Regions from separate parts of the Homo sapiens genome. Here region 2 is linked to region 1. The links are contacts of gene promoters, found by promoter capture Hi-C in blood cells and fetal thymus (Javierre and others, 2016). All regions are on one chromosome and are shown on one strand. Each heading gives the region's core, a stretch centred on a gene start or on the middle of the fragment in contact. The rest is flanking DNA. Distances are from core to core; before and after follow the strand shown. Region 1 holds the start of SMIM19 (small integral membrane protein 19). Region 2 overlaps VDAC3 (voltage dependent anion channel 3).

The links. Contacts are between HindIII fragments. The CHiCAGO score rates a contact against its expected background, and 5 or more counts as called.
Region 2: a contact is called between a fragment that was not itself captured here and the fragment with the promoter of SMIM19 in region 1, in 6 of 17 cell types (megakaryocytes, fetal thymus, M2 macrophages and 3 more). The highest score is 11.9, in megakaryocytes.

What each region holds. Positions count from the first base shown.
Region 1 is chr8:42,539,552-42,543,273 of GRCh38, forward strand. It overlaps SMIM19 (small integral membrane protein 19), which reads left to right and starts at 2,034. Exons shown (of 4, transcript NM_001135674.2): 1 at 2,034-2,822. It also overlaps a transcript of SLC20A2 not described here. RefSeq lists silencers at 1,615-1,894, 2,035-2,454 and an enhancer at 3,615-3,722. The HindIII fragment of the contact is 8,293 bases long and covers 1-3,084 here.
Region 2 is chr8:42,396,145-42,399,866 of GRCh38, forward strand. VDAC3 (voltage dependent anion channel 3) reads left to right here. Exons shown (of 10, transcript NM_005662.7): 5 at 2,568-2,720; 6 at 3,507-3,559. Among named protein-coding and RNA genes, the nearest start is that of VDAC3, 6.1 kb to the left of the region's middle. The HindIII fragment of the contact is 2,405 bases long and covers 549-2,953 here.

The sequences.
Region 1 (3,722 bases), core at 784-3,283:
TTAACATTTAAATGCCCAGTAAAACTGTGCTAGACTCATCAACAAAGTAATAGCCAGTCCACTGTTTTTTATTTTTTTAGTTTGGTATTGGAAAATTAGCCTTGTTTCATTATGTTTGTTTACCCTTAATTAGGAATGTCACTTAGAAATTAAATATGGAAAGAGGGGGCCATTTAAGAAAGGACCATTAGGGCTTTCTCAATATTTACCTTTTTCCAATGTCCTAGCATAGCCTGTTCACTGGGTGACAATGTTATATAATAGAAACTCTGATAAATAAGAGACACGGGGCTTTGGAAACTATTCAGCACCTAAATAAAGGGACTAATTGTACTTCTATGAATTTTTAAAGCCATCTTCCAACTTGAAAAACACATTAATTTACTCTATGGGTAACATTTTATATTGCCAACACTCTTATTTTACAAAGGCATAAACAAGCATTTAATGCACACGTTTGCCCGGCGCGGTGGCTCACGCCTGTAATCCCAGCACTTTGGGAGGCCGAGGCGGGCGGAACACCTGAGGTCTGGAGTTCGAGACCAGCCTAGCCAACATGGTGAAACTCCGTCTCTACTAAAAATACAAAACTTAGCTGGGCGTGGTGGCGGGCGCCTGTAATCCCAGCTACCTGGGAGGCTAAGGAAGGAGAATCGCTTGAACCCGGGAGGCGGAGGTTGCAGTGAGCCAAGACAGTGCCATTGCACTCCAGCCTGAACGAGAGCAAAACCCCGTCTCAAAAAAAACAAAACAATAACAATAATGTACACGTTTCACATTTGGACACACTGAAATCAAACTCACGTATTCAAATTTTTTTAGATTAAGTTACATAAAGCATGCACACCATTTGGCACAGGCCCGGCAAACAATCAGTACTCAACATCACCTGTTATTTTCCTGATTTTCCAACTTTAGAGTCAAACTAAATGTTATAGAATTATATGTATGATTATGTATATACAATATATATAAATACATATAAATACCGTAAATTAAGCTAGTATGTTATTGCGTAAAGTAATGGTCTTACCCTAGACGAAGGTGAGTTTAATTGTAACAGATGAAACAAAGAATAGAAAACTTGTTAAGAAGTGTTCAATGTAAGCTCTCATCTCTGCAGGGTTTCATGTGACTTATAATTACCAGTCAGCTGGTCCTAGAGAACTTAATCAAAATGTATAGTAAAGACGAACTACGTGGACCAGTGGCCATTTATCTGCAAGGTGGCACCAGCCACTGACATCTGATCACTTCCATACTGATGCTGAAATCCTATGCAAATTCATTACTTAGGTCAAGCTGGGAAACACTTCTGTCAAGTCACTACACAATTAAATAAAAATACCCAAAAGGGACTTACACTGACAATGCTATAGCATCCTGGCCATATCCAGTTTTGAAAACACTACGGTGTCAGCCACGCACCATTTAGGACGGGGAGAATGGAAAGCCAGTTTGGAGAACAGACGCTTTCTTAAGAGTACACGTGAATATGAAAAGGGACTCTATGCTCTCAAGACCAAAAAAGAAATCCTCTGCGCCGCCCGGCTACATTGCGCCTGGTGGGACAATGTACACGACCCCTCCCCCGCCGAGTCCCACCCCAAGCGCGCACAGCGGAGCAGGAGGCGCCCGGCACTCGCAGGTAATGCCCGGTCCCTGCCACTTCCGTCGAGTTTTCGCAAAGGCGCCGCACGGCAAGCGACGGCCAGGTCCACGTGGGCCAGCAGGCGCGGGGGACGCAACCCGCCGCCGCCGCGAGCCCCGCCGGCGCCGACCAGCCCTGGCCCCCACCCGCGGGAGCCCGGGAGTCGGGCCGGGGGCTCGCGGGAGGCGGCGCGCGCAGCCCGGGCGGGGGTCGCGGCGCGGTAGGGGAAAGGAGCCCGGCTCCACTCACGCGCCCGGGGGCGGCACTGGGGCCGCCGCTGCGTCTCTCCGGCTCAAAAAACTGAAAAGGGGAAAGGAAAAAAAAAAAAAAAAGACCTGGCTCCTCGTTTCATCCGGAAACCGACCGGCCGGCAGGAAATGACGAAGGCAGAGGGCGTCCAGGTCCGCTCGGTAACCGTTTCCCGCGCGCCCGGCCCCGACTCCGGGGTAAAGAGCCCCGGAGCGGAGCAGCGCTGGCCGCGTGCCGCCTCCGGAGCCGGCAGCGTGAGTGGCCCCGCGTCCCCGCTTCTCCCGGTCCCCGGCGGGGCCGCGTCACCCGGCCCCGCCCCGCGCCGCCCGCCCCGCCCCGGACGCGGGGGTAAGGGGGGTGGCCGCCCGCCTGCCCTCGGTCCCGTGCGGTCCCCGAAACTCCGAGCACCCGCCCGGTCCCGGCGCGGAGCCCCTCGGCGTCGCGTGGAGCTGCGAGTCGCCCGCTTCCGGAAGCGCACACGGGCCAGTTGCGGCGGCCCATCTGCCGGGGCGGCGGGGGCTCGGCGGGAGGGTTGAGGCTGAATCACGCGCAGCCTGCGGGCGGCGGAAACGTCCCTAGAGCCTCGCCGCCCTGGGACCCGGGCTGCTTCCTGGGAGAGGATTACATTTTCTCCCTGCTCCACTTGACTTTCTTCCGGAAGGAGCAGGTCTCGCAGGATCGGGGCCAAGACTGGAAGAGTTCAGGTTTGGGAGTCGTGTGTATAACAGCCCCGCGCCTCCACGCCCAGGCCTGTGTGGCTTTGGACAAGTTATATAACCACCGCCGCCACCCCAGTTTCTTCTCCTGTAAAATGGAGCTTTAGTGCCGCCCAGCAGGGTTGTTGGGATAATTCAGTGACTCTGTGGACTGCCCAGCACCTGTGAATTGCTTTCCTGGATGTTGGGTGAAGGCCTGTGAGCTTGTATGTACCCTTTGGCTTCAGAATACCAAGCCTTTAGTGTTTCAGAGGGATGAGAGAAAGAAATCCCATTTTTTGATGCAGAGGATTTTGTTGTAAGGGACTCTAGGAACTAAGTGGTTCCAATGTGAATTTGTATCAAAGTAACAAAGTTCTAAGTGAGAGACAAAAATGATAACATTCAAGGCACGATGACAAGCGGTGGTCAATTTTAGAATCACCTAGACGTGACATCAGGAACCCAAAATCACGACACAGATTTTAAAGCTTATGATACAGTGACCTAGTCCCTAGAAAAAGTAGTTCTCGGCTGGGCACGGTGGCTCACGCCTGTAATCCCAGCACTTTGGGAGGCTGAGGCGGGCGGATTGCCTGAGCTCAGGAGTTTTGAGACCAGCCTGGGCAGTATAGTGAGACGACCCCCACCCCACCCCCGTCTTTAAAAAAAAAAAAATAAGAATTACCCAGGCATGGTGGCACTTGCCTGTATTCCCAACTACTTGGGAGGCTGAGGCAGGAGAATCCCTCGATTCTGGGACGTCGAGGCTGCAGTGAGCCGAGATCGCACCACTGCCCTCCAGCCTGGGTGACAGAGTGAGACCCTGTTTTTGTAAAAAAAAAAAAAAAAGTAGTTCTCATCCTAAAAGTTTGTCAATCTAAAACCAACCCCTAGTTGTAATATATTGGCAAGTTTATATACTCTTGTTTACTTGAGACTTAATTCAGCCCATCCTAGCCTCTCCTTACTGAAATAGTTCAAGCATTACATTACAGGAAAATGTGAAAAATGGTGTCTTGCTTTAGATTCCAGAGGAAGGCTGTGGTGGTATGCAGTAAGCACGCAGCAGGTGTATGTGTGTACACTTGGTTACACTGTGGCATGCCGGGGAGGAGGGGACGGGG
Region 2 (3,722 bases), core at 501-3,000, 140 kb before region 1:
CTACTTGGGAGGCTGAGGCAGGAGAATGGCATGAACCCAGGAGGCAGAGGTTGCAGTGAGCAGAGATCGTGCCACTGTACTCCATCCAGCCTGGGCAACAGTGCAAGACTCCGTCTCAGAAAAAATTGCTTTTATTTAATAAATCTCAGCAAGTAGGTTAAGTTTTAATTTACCTTACTCTGATTTCTCCTCATTGGCTGCATCGTTTTTGGTATTTATCCATTCAAACCCATGAAAATTTTATTTCTGAATGTATAATTAGAAGGACAAAGACATGTGGAATTCTAATGATACTGTGTATAATCATGGTTTGTGACCATCATTCTTTCCCTGGGTTTCTCTGGAGTAAATAAATATATATGCACCTCCCTTACTAAGATGGGCACGCTGTGTATATAGTTCTGTTAAAATAGAAGAATCATTCTCATTTTGTGTAGGTTCCAGAATTTGCTCATTAGGTTTGTGTTGCAAAAATTATCAACTAAAATTTTATCTCCCTTTCATGCTGCTGTTGTGTGGTAATATTCATTCAGATGGTAAGAAAAAAAAGCTTATTCGTATGCTTGTTTTTATGGCTGCTTTTGGTTTCTGGTATTGATTTAGGATAAATTTCAATCATTGTTCCAAATTTCTTAGATTGTGTCTTGATATTTTTCTCATATGCTATCTACTTAACAGTAACATTTTTGTTTGTTTTGTTGCTTACTAAGCATTTAATGTAGAGCTATATGCATGTTATATGCATGTTATAAATGTGTTTTGCACTTGTTTGACCAAATTATGAAATTAGACACAAACTGAACTGTGAATCGTGAGCCTGGAACTCAACTTAGAACAATTCTAGCCTTTTTTTCTGAGATTTGTACCTGTGGCATTTTAGATTCGTGACAGACCTTCAAACTAAGAATTGATGCTGACAAGGGAGAAATGTAGACTACCCCTCTACCTTAATTTTGTGCATAAGGTTTTTCTAGCACCAAAATTAAGATTTGCATTTGTTATACTTGTCAAGTTTGTGAAAAGTAAATGTAAAAAATAAAACACTAGATAGTTGGATCTACTAAAAGAAAAATGATTGTCACGTTAAAATAATTATGTGAACAGTTAAACATGATTAACATGTTATCATTTTTTTTTTACTAAGGCCTTCCCCTAAATGTGCAGCATGATACTCTCTTTGAAACCATTCTGTGTGGTTTGATAAACAGAACATAACTTCCCAGTTGTCTCATCTGCCTGTAGAACTAGAGTTAGGGGACAGGGCATTTGTTAAGGAGAGGATTCATGTTGCAGGCAGTGAAAAAGACTGGTCAGGGTTGGCAGCATCTCATTACTGTTGGCAGGATTTCAGAAATGCTCCCTAAAACAGGACCAATCAGAATGTTTTTTCTTGACAGTTCATAGATTGTCAGTGACAGGTGCTGTCTGCTTTCCCCAGAAGGAGGTCCATTTCTAATTGCTTATTGTCATATGACTTAAAGGGCACTGAACTAGGGCAAAGGATGTATTTTATTTTATTTTATTTTTTTGAGACAGAGTCTCATTCATAGTAACTGTTTGATAGAAAGCACTCTTAAAGGTAGACAGGATAGAAAGGGGGAAAGAAGGATAAATTATAGCATTCTACTTTATTTTGAAAAATGGGTAGTACTTTCAAATATTGAAATTGTCTAAGCAGAAGTTTTGCAGTTTTGCACACAAAAGCATTAAAGTTTTCACAGCAGTGTGACTGTACTTAATGCCACTTCACTGTACACTTAAAACATTATTAAAATGGTAAAATGTATGTTACATGTATTTACCACAATAAAAAAAAACATTTTTAAAAGGAAGTAGTAAAGTGTTGACCCTATTAAAAAGGAGGAGGGCAGTATTTTGGGATTTTTAAGGACCTTGAAATTAACTGATAGTTTGAAACATATAGCAGAGAACTGATAATCTTTTTTTAGGTCATGAAAGTAAAATGTTTAAGATACAATATTTTTGGTCTTTTTAGTAAAGGCATTTGTTTTCAGTAAAGATACTTCTTTTTTAAAGGAGAGAATTTAGGATTACCATTTGGTAAGAGAGTATATGGAACAAGAGATATTAATAAGAGAAGTAGAGTAATGGAAAGATCTGAAACTGGTATTGAGCTGTCTCACTCCGTTGCCCAGGCTAGGGTGAAGTGGCATGATCTCGGCTCACTGCAACCTCTGCCTCCTGGGCTCAGGCTGGGACTACAGTCACGTGCCATCATGCCTGGCTAATTTTTTGTATTTTTTGTAGAGATGGGGTTTTGCCATGTTGCGCAGGCTGGTCTTGAGCTCCTGGACTCAAGGGATCCACCCGCCTTGGCCTCGTAACATGCTGGGATTACAGGCATGAGCCACTGCGCCTGGCAGAACTGGTTAAAATATTTAGGGACTGGAAAAGCAAGGGGAAAGGAGGAAAGAAGTTGCTCTAGAGTAGGGCTGTGGCAAGCAGTAAATGGTATTGTTTTTGATACATTGAACACTGCTTTCCAAAGTGAATATTTTCTATTTGATGAGCTAATTTTAAAGTAATTATTTTTTCTTGCTTACCAGGAATTTTCTACTTCTGGTCATGCTTACACTGATACAGGGAAAGCATCAGGCAACCTAGAAACCAAATATAAGGTCTGTAACTATGGACTTACCTTCACCCAGAAATGGAACACAGACAATACTCTAGGGACAGAAATCTCTTGGGAGAATAAGGTAAGAGAACGCATTAGAAGTTATTCATAGGTTCAATTTATCTTGTAGATTGAATGATGAACATACCCCAAATATAATCAAAAGAGATCTTACAACCTATCTAGTAGCCATATTTTTTCTCTGCATGTGGCCTTTTTTGATGTCTTATGTTTCTAGAAAATAAGGCTTTGTTTGTGAGTACTCTAATTACTATATTACATCTTTGTTCTGACTGGTTCTCTGTTACACAGCTAAGCTTCTCCTGGGTAGAACAAACTATTTGCGGAAATTTGGTTTAGTTTTGTAATTGTTGAAAAATTGGCTTGACAGAAAAATTTTTCTAAAATGTTCTCATGTTTTCAAGGAGAAAATCTATTAGATATAGTCAAGTGCCCACTATGTACAGGGCACTGTTTTTGATAGAGATACCATGTATAGATAATGTACATGCAAAACTGAGTAAAATGACTTAGCCTGCTTGTTAAATGTCAGGTTATCTCATTACTGCTCTTTCAAGAGAGTATCAAGATGATTTTGTTGTATGGGAATTCTGTTTGGTTTTGAACTGTATTTTATGTAACTTGCTAAAATAGGATTTGCCCCATTTTTTAGTGGGAGAACCATGATGAAGGCTGGGGTGAGGGGACAGGAGGATGGAGAGCTTACTTATTACATAATTTAATATTTTGCTTTCTTGAATGACTCCTTTTTTTTGTTAAAGAACTCAGGAAACTTTAGAATTGGTTTCTTGAGTTGGATAAATGATTGAAAATTACTAATTATTTATTTTAAATCTTTGTTTTTCAGTTGGCTGAAGGGTTGAAACTGACTCTTGATACCATATTTGTACCGAACACAGGGTAATTATTCAAATCCCATTTCCTGAAACGTTTTTGGAGCCTGAAAGGGTAGAGAGCTTTAGAATAAGGAGATATAGTGCAAAGTTCAGAGGCAGGAAGAACTCAGAAGGTTGCTATAAGGAATATTGGAGACCTTGTATAGGTAATACAGATAAAGGAAGAT